Regions from separate parts of the Homo sapiens genome. Here region 1 is linked to region 2. The links are contacts of gene promoters, found by promoter capture Hi-C in blood cells and fetal thymus (Javierre and others, 2016). All regions are on one chromosome and are shown on one strand. The core of a region is centred on a gene start or on the middle of the fragment in contact, and the rest is flanking DNA. Distances in the headings are between cores, read along the strand shown.

The links. The method cuts DNA at HindIII sites, captures the fragments that hold promoters and counts their contacts. A CHiCAGO score of 5 or more calls a contact.
Region 1: a contact is called between a fragment that was not itself captured here and the fragment with the promoter of CACNB4 in region 2, in 3 of 17 cell types (fetal thymus, M1 macrophages and naive CD4 T cells). The highest score is 6.2, in fetal thymus.

Annotation. Positions count from the first base shown.
Region 1 is chr2:152,612,435-152,618,772 of GRCh38, reverse strand. FMNL2 (formin like 2) reads right to left here. Exons shown (of 26, transcript NM_052905.4): 12 at 3,773-3,922; 13 at 1,581-1,682. Among named protein-coding and RNA genes, the nearest start is that of PRPF40A, 100 kb to the left of the region's middle. RefSeq lists an enhancer at 1-556. The HindIII fragment of the contact is 1,518 bases long and covers 532-2,049 here.
Region 2 is chr2:152,096,542-152,103,037 of GRCh38, reverse strand. CACNB4 (calcium voltage-gated channel auxiliary subunit beta 4) reads left to right here and starts at 3,994. Exons shown (of 14, transcript NM_000726.5): 1 at 3,994-4,089; 2 at 4,625-4,708. The coding sequence starts at 4,027. RefSeq lists a silencer at 3,796-4,085. The HindIII fragment of the contact is 7,735 bases long and covers 1-6,496 here.

The DNA of each region.
Region 1 (6,338 bases), core at 41-2,540, 520 kb before region 2:
GAGGATAAAGAGAAAAAAAGATACTCATATGAATGGGAATTCTTTGGAATTCAGCTAGAACCTATAAAGTCCCATTAATTATTAGTTGTATGCTAGTAATGCATGTAATATATTCTAGCTATTGTTGTTGGTAATGAAGTTCTTTCCATTTAATAAATGCAGCTAACTCAATTTTCCCTGCAGGTGGAAAGAAACAGAGCAGAAATGACCCGGAATGCTGACTCTGGAATCTCCTGAGGGTGTTCTGGTGGTGCATGTTTTCCTTCCTTTTATTTTAACATTCATTTGTAACTCTTAGATACACATATCAGCTAACAATAGACAAAAGGGCCCTAAATCAGACTTGGATACAAATCAGACTGGGATTAAAAATCTGCAAAGCATGGAATAATCTACTCATGAGTAACCAGGGGCTGACTGTTTCTGAATGGCTTTCTCTGGCCCTCACAACGCCCCCTTGACCAAGCTCAGGATAGCGATTGTTGTAACATTTTCCCATCGGTAATGCGGTTAACAAAACAGGCCAAAGCTTCCCTTCACTAATTACTTATTTCTGTCTAGCTTTTTAGCAGAAAACAAAGAAGTTACAATTTTCAATTCAAAGACTGTCCTGGTTCCTTTTATAAGGGGGGGGCCCATAGAGGTTCTAGTGAAAGGGTTTTATGGAACTGAACTTCCTTGCTGGGCCTTGTACAAGCGATCTCTCACCACAAACCTCCAGCAAGCAGGGAAACATTCTTCACACCCTGTCTATTACTAATAATCTAAGAGTCTGAAGTTGAATTGAGTCCATATGCTACAACTCTGTCTCGAAGGCGTGCCAGAAAATATATTTCCTGGACTGAACTGTAGGACATGTCAGGATATCAGACACACACAGACACGATAACCATCACATAAAAGGTGCAATTTCATTAGCAGTGGTGTAAAGGCAAGCCATTTGCCTTAAAGCTCTCCAGGCATTTTGGTGTTCTTATGTTCAGCACAATTCCAAGCACAGGGATGGCACTCCATAAATACCTGGCACATAAGGTAAACAATACTAAGGCCAAATAAAATAGCTGGGATTAGCTGATAATAAAATGGATTGGGTTTGCTTTGCACATCCCCTCCCTTTTTTTGGTGAATGCCATTAAGCCTAGCCTGTGTTGTATTTCACTGTTTACACAGCAACCACCAAATCTGGTTTTGAGTGGAAGCAAAGCAAAAAAATACAAAGAAGCTCAAGTCCTAATAAAAATAAATAAGTGGCATGAATTAAATCCATGCTGTGTTTTTATTTCCAACCAAATGGGTGTTCCACAGAATTAACTCAGCCTCCTCCAGATGGGAAAACACTGTTGCTCCCAAAATCTGTGATAAGGAAATACTGAACCCCCAGTATCTGATTGCACACACATGTGTATACATAACGCCGACTATGTGTAGTTTTCAACTGAGCATCACCTCTCAAAGGTTTCCAATAAATATGCTGCATCAATGCATTCCTCTGAAATGAAGGTACTCTGCGTTCCACTGGACGAAAGCTGGAGTACATTCCCTACCGTGCCCATCTGGGCAGTTGTCATCATTACACTTACCCGAACGACATCCAGCTCCTTGTTCCTCTGCATGAGTTGCTTTTCCAGTTCCACAATCTTGGACATGGCTTCATTCTCTGTGTCTTGCAGTTTTTCAGATAACTGTAAAATTTTGAAAAGAAAGCTGTCACAATACAGGATCATCTTGATCAGCCCTCAGTTCTCAGAAAGTGCAGCTCCAAGATTATTAGGGACCAGGGCCCTGCATGTGTTCCGCAAGTTGTTTTCTGGAAATGGTAATGTTTATAATATGGTTCTGAATACATATTTGCTTCTACCAGGAATTGATAACTTAGACATGATTCTTAATAAGACCCACATGTCTGCTCCTTAGTGTTCAACATACACAGTGTGCCTCCCTCCATTTCTGCAGGGGCTAGCAAGGGTAGAGGAAAGTAAGGAGAAAGAGGAGGGAAAGTCCACCTCCATCCCCCACTCCATGCCAAGAAAGGGCCATCAGCCTAAAGCTTTTGAAAATTGGTAACACAGTAAACTTGGTTCTTTCAATCTAGGTAGCCAGTTGAAAAACAACTACTGCTTGGTTTGACCAAACTATGCAAGTAATAAAAGTTGGTTGCCACGCCTGTAATCCCAGCACTTTGGGAGGCCAAGGTGGGCGGATCACCTGAGGTCAGGAGTTTGAGACCAGCCTGGCCAACATGGTGAAACCCCATCTCTACTAAAAAATACAAAAATTAGCCAGGTGTGGTGGAGTACACCTGTAATCCCAGCTACCAGGGAGGCTGAGGCAGGAGAATCACTTGAACCCAGGAGGCAGAGGTTGCAGTGAACCAAGATCGCGCCACTGCACTCCAGCCTGGGTGACAGAGTAAGACTCTATCTCCAAAAAAAAAAAAAAAAAAAACCCACAAAAATAATAATAATAATAAAAGTTATTTGGGGGAGGCCATTCAAATAGATTGCTGCTACAAAAGTGGACATGTAAGTATGGTCATGCAATGTTGGCTGAGGCTTCAGGAGAAAGACAGGGTGAGCCATGTGTTAAACAGCTGCTTTTCACATAGGGCTCTAACACTGAGCAACTTCTGATTTCTAACATCTCCTTTAAATTCATTACAAGTAAAGAAAACCAGGGAGGCAAGGTAAGGAGGAAGAGTGGAGATTTACACTGATTGGGTTCAGCATATAACACAAATCTTCTAAGGGAAGATATACTGGGCCTGTAAAATTCTCTTTTTAAGCGGATGCCAGCTGGGTCATAGCGGCACTTTTAAAGGGAGGGTTTTTGGCTCACCAACTTGGCTTACCCACAGCCATGAAGAGACCCATTTTCACAGTGATGGGGAAAGGTGAAGGAAACTGAGCATATGCAGCACTCTTTAAAAAACATGTGGAGAAAAATAAATGAACTGTTCAAAGGAGAAAATAATAATCCTCCAAAAGGAGACACTTCATTTCATAATCAAGGAAAGTGCTCACCAGACTCACCAAAAGAATTTGGTCTTCATAATGCTTGGGTTTTTGAGAAGCACCATTTTTCTGTTAATTCTTTTACTACTGAAATATGTGGTTAATGAATGAACAAATAATCTCTAAAGGCCCTTAGAGTCATATTCAAATCAGTCTATGGCAAGAAAAATCCCTCAAAGAAAAATGAGACCCTGTCCTGTGATAGAGCTGACAACGATACTGAGGACATTCTTCAAAGAACAGGATATATGAGAAAGCACACCGATGTCCTTGAAAATGCCTATTGTTGAAATGACTCTATTAAGAATTTGAGTACCGTAAGACAGGAATGTTCAGACATGCATCACAGAGACACCAGCTAATCCTGTCCATGGGTTTGTGTGGACATAGTTGATAAGAAGATACCTCTTCGCCTCAGGCCAAATTCTCATATTTAATTTCCCTCTAATCATTTACGTAATGCCAATCATCAAACACCCCCACTCTGCTTGAGCCTGTAAGCAAGACTGCCAGGAAATGCACCTCAGCAGAAACTGAGCAGGTAAGTGAGCTAAAGCAAAGCAACAGATTCTATTTCATTTTACATAACACATCTGCTTTTTGGAAAAAACACAGAACAGCTTCTGATAGCTCTCTCTTGCAGGGTATGGCCTATTCCTATACTCCAAATCCTTAAATTTACCACCATAAAAGCTGACATTAATTCTGCTTTGCAACCAGCTGAAATGTAAGCAATTTTTCCTTTTCTGAGATATAGTTACATGAGAAATGTTTTCTTCCAGTTCTTCCACCCTCTCCAAGGCAGCATTCTTAGTTTCAGCATCTTCCAGTAGAGCTCCTACATCAAAAACATTGTCCAGGTAAGCCTGGATCTGGACTTGAAGCTTGTCACTCTCAGTGTGTTTCAGCTTCTAAAAACCAGAATAGGAGAGAACGTGGTGTTAGCTCATCTATGGAAATAGAACATCATTTCCTAAGAGTCTGTCTTTTTTGTTTTTTGTTTTGTTTTGTTTTGTTTTGAGATGGAGTTTCACTCTGTCACCCAGGCTGGAGTGGAATGGTATGATTTCAGCTCACTGCAACCTTCACCTCCTGGGTTCAAGCGATTCTCGTGTCTCAGCCTCCCAAGTAGCTGGGATTACAGGCACGCGCCACCACACCCAGCTAATTTTTGTATTTTTAGTAGAGACGGGGTTTCACCCTGTTGGCCAGGATGGTCTCGATCTCCTGACCTCGTGATCCACCCGGCTCAGCCTCCCAAAGTGCTGGGATTACAGGCGTGAGCCACCACACCCAGCCAGTCTATGTGTTTTCTTTTCGACAAATAGTCCAGCCCTTTCCAAGAGAGCTTAACATGTCATCTTCCTTAAGAGAATTATGGAGTGACTGCCTAAGCAGTATCATCAGATGACTTTCGGGTGAATACGCTCTCCCAAATGCACACACATTTTCCCCCAAATCCTTACTGCCCCATGTAGTTATATTCCTATGTAAAACATTTTGATATACATGAAATTGGGACAACAGAAAAATTAAAAGCAGCTTTAACAGGTTATAGTCATGGCCACATAAAACCTGAGGGGTATCTGTGTAGTGGAAAAGACTGGAGTGTTTGGTATCTTACCTGGTTAGTTACAGTGGTTCCAGTAGGGGAAGAAGGTTAGGCGAGAGGTGGGGCAGACACTGACAGAGTTTATACTTAGCCTTGGGGATTATTTTAGCACAAATTGCTAGAGCCCAACCTCCACACATCCCTCCCTAAGTCAGTATACAGCATGAACAGCTCAGGGCTCCCCAAGGCAGATCAGAAAGCTTTCCCCAATTCACTGCCTCCCAAACTAGGCATCCTGCAGGGACTCAGCTAGCTCTGGAAATTAGAGGTCAAATAAATCAGTGAATCTTCCCTACAAGTAACATAAGTCATGACTTTCCCTGGGGAACAGATGAGTGATTAGAATAATACCTGGTGCATGGATGATGCCAATCAACATTTATTGAACAAATCAATGGCTACTTACAAGGCTGGGTTTTTGTAAACTAGTGAAGCATTTATATAGCATACATTTACATTACTCTTCTAACCACCTCTATTAGGTTCCAGAGTCAACACATGATGAAGTTAAAGAAATACAGAGTTTTGACAAAAAATCTTACATTTTTAAGAGAAATTCCACTCTACATAAATTTTCAGAAAAATGGATTTTCCCCTAGGTTTAATCTGGAATTCTACAATACAGCTTATTCTGAAGAGAGAGTGTTCTGTTTTCATTTATGAGTCACAAGTGAGAATGGCTTCTAAATAAGGGCAAAGGCTAGAACAAAAGGAGAAGCAGCTTAATGGGATTTTTCATGAGATTCACAATGAATAACAGGTGTTCAGTGATAAGTGGGTACCTGCCGTTATATTCTACAGCATAAACAAGCTCTGCTCAGACACCACAAAACCAAACCCAAAACACCGCTAGGAATTTATACATCCAATTTTTGTTCAAATACTGATACTTTTAGAGCATAGGAGAAAAAGGGATAGACAAACCTTGATCTCAAAGTAAGAAAGAGTCTTTCTGTACAATATTCTGCCAGTGATATAAATGAGCCTTTAAATAAAAAGGAAAGCAATTCAAACAACATTTTAATGGAAATCTATTACGCCTCTCCCTGAGTAGTCTTTAGACAACAGTAGGCCCATCTATTCAAGGGCAGCCCAGCCAGTCTAGGAAGCAAGGCCTTCAGGTTGAGAGTAACCACCTCTGTGATTCCGTCTCCTAATAAACTGAGGGTACAGTCTGTGCAATCCCTTGGGTTTATCTCTAACAAAGATGGGCAACTGAATTCCTGAGATGCCCAAAGGAAGTACTTCTATATTCTTCACAGCTGGAAACAGGCTTGAAATTCAGGTCACCGGCTGGGTGCATTACTTGAGGCAGGAGTATGAGACTAGCCTAGCCAACATGGTGAAACCCAGTCTCTACTAAAAATACAAAAATTAGCCAGGCATAGTGCCTGTAATCCCAGCTATTCAGGAGGCTGAGGCATGAGAATCGCTTGAACCCAGGAAGCAGAGGTTGCAGTGAGCCAAGATTGCACCACTGCACTCCAGCCTGGTTGACAAAGTGAAACCCTGTCTCAAAAAAAAGGAAGGAAATTGAGGTCAACAATTCTTGCTCTATCACTAGACCATTCCTATACAAAAGGGAAAACAAAACTGCCTGGATCCTCAGGTCCACTTCTTTTCCGTTTTAGACACAGGGTCTCGCTCTGCCACCCAAGCTGGAGTGCAGTGGTGCAATCACAGCTTGTTGCAGCCTAGAAATCCTGGACTCCAAT
Region 2 (6,496 bases), core at 2,745-5,244:
ACCCGCCTCGGCCTCCCAAAGTGCTGGGATTACAAGCGTGAGCCACCGAGCCTGGCCTATTATAGTTGAGTTTTAAGAGTTATTTGTATATTTTGTTTACAAGTTCTTTGTCTTCTTATTATCTTAACAGAGTTTTTCACAGAGCAGAAATTTTTAATTTTAATTAAACCCAGAATATCAATTTTTATTTTCTTGCATCATGCTTTTGGTGGTGGTGTAAAATCTCAACACCAAACTCAGACTCATGGAGATTTTGTCTTCTGTTTTCCCCTAGAGGTTTCGTAGTTTTGCATTTACACTTAGGTCTGTAATCCATTTTGAGTTAATTTTTCTGTAAGATCTGAAGATTAAAAAAATAATAACTTTATTGACATATAATTCACATACCATACAATTCACCCACTCAAAGTATACAATTAGGCAGGGTGCAGTGGCTCACACCTGTAATCCCAGCACTTTGGGTGGCCAAGGTGGGAGGATGGCTTGAGTCCAGGAGTTCAAGACCAGCCTGGACAACACAAGGAGACTACAATTCTATAAAAAATAAAAAATTAGCTAGGCATGGTAGTGCCCACCTGTGGTCTCAGCTACTCAGAAGACTGAGGTATTGCTTGAGCCGGAGATGGAGTCTCACTGTGGTGCCCAGGCTGGAGTACAGTGACGTGTCACAGCTCACTGCAGCCTCGACCTCCTGGGCTTAAGCAATCCTCCCACCTCAGCTTCTTGGTTAGCTGGGACCACAGACACGCACCACCATGCCTGTCTAACATTTTTTTCTTTTCCTACTCATGCTTTTGGTGTCATGTCTAAGAATTTATTGCCAAATCTAAGGTCATGAAGATTTACCCTTATCTTCTAATAGTTTTATATTTTTAACTCTTTTAAGTCTTTGATTAATTTTGAGTTAATTTTTGTATATGATATAAGGCAGCAATCCCCAGCCTTTTTGGCACTAGGGATTGGTTTCATGGAAGATCAATTTTCTATGGGACGGGGATGGAGGATGGTTTGGGGATGATTCAAGCACATTACATTTATTGTGCACTTTATTTCTATTATTATTACATACTCACCATAATGTAGAATCAGTGGGAGACTTGAGCTTGTTTTCCTGTAACTAGATGGTCTCATCTGGGGGTGAGGGGAGATAGTGACAGATAATCAGGCATTAGATTCTCATAAGAAGCCCACAACCTAGATCCCGTGCATGTGCAGTTCACAATAGAGTTTGCACTCCTATGAGAATGTAATGCCACCCCTGATCTGACAAGAGGCGGAGCTCAGGCCATAATGCTCACTTGCCCCACCGCTCACTCCCTGCTGTGTGGCCCAGTTCCTAACAGGCCACAGACTGGTACTAGTCTGTGGCCTGGGGGTTGGGGATCCTTGATGTAAGGTCAGGGTTCAACATCATTTTTTCCACTCTGGTGTCAGAGGTAGGGACAATGATGCACCTCTCTCTGAGTGACATCACCATGTTAGATGCTGAATGTTTCTGGCAGAAGCACTCAAAGCAGTCCCACGTTTCCTGACTTCTTTCTCGATGAGCCAGAAGCAAAGGTGATCAAGGCCCAAGTACACTCAGTGCTGCTGTGGCCAAGGTACAGCCTCCAGGTACAACTGGGCAGAAGAAGGGAGCCCCCACCTCTGCCATACTTGCTTAGAACTTAGTCTCAACAACAGGTAGCTGCGGGGAGGATGACAAATGCTGATGTTTTGTCCCTCCTAGGAAGCTGACCCTCCAACTGGGAGCTGAAGGGTGAGGGAGCCCTGTGTTCTTGGCTGCACCAGTATAGCGTGGAGCCCTCTCTGAGTTGGAAGCATGAAAAGAGTGAGTAGGTCTTGGTTCAAATACCTCAAGCTCACTTTTCTTACTGGGTTTCAGTAGGTTTTCTTGAATAAATGTTCCTTCATTTGTTGTGCACCTTTAGGACCATTTTTAGAAATTTAAATGGTTGCTTATATATAAAACATATAATTTTCACCAGTTTTGCTTTGAGCTGGGTGTACAGGGCTTCTCATGTTGTTATGCCTCTGTGGGTTCTGTTTCAATAACTTAAAGTCAGTGAGAATGTGGACAGTGGAAAACCACACAATTCAAAGTCCAGTGCTCACATAGTAATTTAATATGCACACACGTATCAACTATGAAAATGGCTCAGAACTAAATACGGATTGGGTTGACAGTAACTAAAGTAGGGAGTCCTGCATGGTTAGACCTCCATTCCCCATAAATTCATGGAGTATCTACTATATGGAAGGTATAGGAATAGAAGATAAACCGCTAAAAATTCTGAAAATTAGGAGATTTTCACAAAAACAGAACTAACAAACTAATAAGCTAAGGCAGCCTATTCTAAGTGCCCAGAGAATACATGCTCCAGTTTTTCAGAAGCACAAGAATTATGTGGGACTGGAGTAGTCAGATAGGATTTCTGTGGAGGAAGCGTGAGCTGAGTCCCATTTAGAAGAAAGGTAGGATTCAGCCGGGTGTGTAGGTTGTTGGGAGGGCATATTCCAAGGAGGCATTCCAAAGCAGAAGAGCTCAAATGTGATTGTATTTGGAATACTTGGGTATTGATGACTAGACCTGCCTGCTTGCTGGAAGGTTTGTATAGAGAGATCAAGATGGAGAAATGAGATGGAGAGTGATCAGAAATGCAGGAGAGGCTGAGTTGTTGGACCATGGAGTTTGGACTTTATCTTAGAGAAGAGTGACTTGGGCAAGATATTTTAGGAAAATGGTTTTGCCTGTAGTGTGTAGATGGAATGAAATCTCTGCGTGTGTATGTGTGCATGTGCATACGTGCACATGCACCAGGAAGCCTGGAGGCAAGGACATTAGTTATAAGATTGTTACAGAGGTTTGGATTAAGTGAAGGGATTAGGAATGGAAAGGAAGTGTCTGGTGGATGGTAAGATATAACCAGGACCTCAATAAAGCCAAGCAATTATTAAAACAAGCATGGTAGTTGTGTCCATAAACATAAAGTCCTAGAATGCAAGCTGATTTAGCGATTTGAGATAGTAAGTATATTTTAATTTAAACGGAGTCTCTTTATTTTTGAATTTGCATATACTTTTCTTCCCTCTTCTTATTCCTCTGTCAATACCTCGCACTTATTCTTCCTTTCCGCAATCCCTCTCTTTTAATTTGATCACAAATTAATCTCTTGTATGTATTTACAGGAGGAAACCAATGGCAAACGTTGTGTATGGTTGCAAGGATGAGTTTCTCCCCCTTGAAAATATCCATTCGCATAGAAATGGGAGGCACAGTGACCAACTCTTGCTTCTTAGCAGGTCTAACATGACCTTCAAAACTCCGTAGGACATACTGGTCTTTGGCGGGGCAGCATCTCCCGTCAGACTCAGGCTGGCTGGGTTTCTCACAGCTGCCTGGATGTGTGTGACTCGCAGCTCTAAGGACAGAATTGCCAAAGCAATACAAAAACACGGACGAAAAGCAAGCCACAAAACCCCATGCCTTACACATTAGGCTGATGAGTGAAGTCGCGGAAGGTGGCTCTGCTCTTGCCCTTTTAAAATTCCAGTGCAGCAAACACACACACACACACCCGCTCGGTTCTTCCCATTCCCGCCACACTGCACCAGCTTCCGTCCCCAAGTCCTGATTCATGAACCGTGCCACCTTTGTCTCATTTTAAACTGTGCAGACTATTTTAATCTTGCCACCCCCATCCCAGATTTCCCCCTCCCTTCATCCTCTGGAAGCTCTGATGTAAAGCGCTTGCTAGGTGGGAGAGCGCTTCTCCCAATCCGCTCGGGTAGGCGAGTTTCCGAGAAGCCCCCTCCCCGGGACCCCGCCGCGAGCGCGGGGGAAGCGCCTCGGTCCCTTTAAGGTGCCGCGCTCTCCGAAGTGCGGGCAGGGAGCCTGGGCGCCGGCGCGGGTCCTGGAGCCGGGTGGGGAAGTCCTGCGCCCTCCCCCTCCGTCCGCAGCCCAGCCTCGGGGGCCAGCCCCCTCCGCCCACCGCACACGGGCTGGCCATGCGGCGGCTCTGAACGATGTCCTCCTCCTCCTACGCCAAGAACGGGACCGCGGACGGGCCGCACTCCCCCACCTCGCAGGTACCGCCCCCTCCTCCCCCTTCTCCTCTTCCTCCTCTTCCTTCCTCACACCTCCTCCGCCGCCCTAGCGCGCCCCGCCTTCGTGCCGGGCGTGCGGGGCCCCAGTCCCGGGAGTCGGCGGCCCCGCTCCCCCCACCCCTCCTCCACGTCCCTTTCTCCTCCCGCTCCTCCTCTTTCTCCTCCTTCTCTTCCTCCTCCTCCTCACCCTCCTTCGGGTCTCTGCGCTCCCGCTCCGGAGCCCGCAGCCTCCCCCAGCGGATGCCGGGGACTCGGACCCCGCACCCTGAGAGTCTTTGTTAATGGATGTGGTGGGTGCTTGCGGGCTGCTCTTCTCGAGCATCTTTTCAGCAGTCGAGGCTTGCAGTGGGTGGGTGGGGGTGGGGGCTGTATTTGGGAGTCGCGGAGGAGACTTGGGTGCGGGCTCTAGGGGACCCCAGGGAGCGGGTCCGGAGGCGGACTCCAGCCGGGGGTGGTCGCCCCGCTCTGCGCTGCGGTCCTCACCGGCTTCTCTCTGGCCCCCGTGTGTCGAGTCCAGGTGGCCCGAGGCACCACAACCCGGAGGAGCAGGTTGAAAAGATCCGATGGCAGCACCACTTCGACCAGCTTCATCCTCAGACAGGTATGAGAAGGAGGCGGGAGACCAGGATGGGGAGGAGGCCGAGCGCGCGGCGCGGGGGTCCTGGAGCCGGCCGTGGCCCACACGTGCGGGAGCTGCGGGTCAAGCCCGCGCGCGTCTCTTCCCGGCCTCGGCCGGTGCTCGGGCTCAGTCCCTCTCCCTCTAGCCTGGGCTCTTGACGTCTTCGCGTCCCGGCGTCTCCGCACCGCCCCGGGAAGTTAGTTTGTGCATGTGTGTGGACAGTTCGGTGGGGACCTGGCTTAAGTCAGGGACGTTGAATTTAAGAGCTGGAAATATGTCTGGTTGTATCTTTGGTGCGTGGAGAAATGTCTTTAATTCGTATAACTCGACCTAGAGTAACCAGACCCCTCGGGGCCGGGGACCTGGTTTGATTCGAGTTGAGATTTAGTGGTTTCTTCTGTTTTGTCCTAATTTGAATACTCTTATCTGTCTGGATCTTGGGAGAGATCGTCAAGCTCCGGTCAAAAGAAAGACACTGAGCAGAAAGTTTACTCTCACTTTAGGACCGCTTCTTGGATTCGCTTAGTTAGGGAAAGACAGCTGTATCTGGTTAAATAGGAATTAACGAAGGCCAGCACTCAGCTCCGGGTCTGGGTGCGCCTTCACTTCGTGTTTGTTTTCTTAGTGCTTGCTTTCTCCTGCGTGGTTCTAGTGCGAATTGTCTGTGCTCGGGATCTCCGGATCGCTGGTAATGCTCAATGCTTAGGTGCCTTTCACCTTGGCACAGGAAATTGGTCCTCAGTTTTCCAACTGTCCATGTGCTGTTAATGAAACCACCCCTGGCTGCTGGGTGCTAGAGAGATCATGCAATGAGTCACCTTGATCTTTCTTTGGAACAGAAATTGTCGGGGTGTGTCCTAGGTTTCGGGTGACCTAGGAAGACATTGGTCATCGCACCAAGAGGCTTTTATCCCAGGTCTTCCTGTGGGCTGCTGGAGTGACCTTGAGAAGTTCTTTTCCCTCTAGGTCACTCAGTATTGTGTAATGTGTTTTCTAACCTATGATGGCAGCTCTGGTGTTTCTTTAGTGATTATCATCAATTTAAACATATCAACGAGGAATTGATATCAAAATTGAACTCAGACCTCTCCTAAAAGGGTCTATAAAGCATATTTAGATGATATTTATTATGCAGAATTTCACTTTCTGCAGAAGCGGAAATTTTGACTACCATTTAATTCAGCGAGCACTAAGCATGTACATTATGGAAATAAATGCATTTTGGATTCCGAATTCATTCTAAAAGTGCATTCTATCCCCTTTGCAGTATTTAGATTATGTATTTGATAAGGCAAACATATTGTTTATCTTAAAAACATTTTTCTGTTATGCAACTGTTTGAGGTCTTGCTGGTGTTTATTTTGTAGGTGCCTATTTTTAGTGGTGTTTCATTGTTGCAAATTCTTGGAAATACTAATTACACAGCAGTTCTTTCCATAAGCTGTTTGACTAAAACTTTTGAGTTCATCTACATAACTGCACTAATGCTTTATTCTTCCTTCCAAGCACAAACAAAATAATATTCTAATATTCTTACTCTTTTCTCAATTTATGCCCGTAACTGATTGAGATGATGTATATATAAGTTCTTGTAAAGCGTGCTGCTATGTGCTGGCTTAAGAAATGTTAAAAGTATTGCATGCTAAATAATTTTGGGAATAATTTAAAGCAAAGTAGATTTTTTTAAATAAATATATTTCATCTATGAAATGGGAATTCATTGGTTTGATTAAATGGTCTAATTTAAATTCAGGAGTTAATTGTAATTGT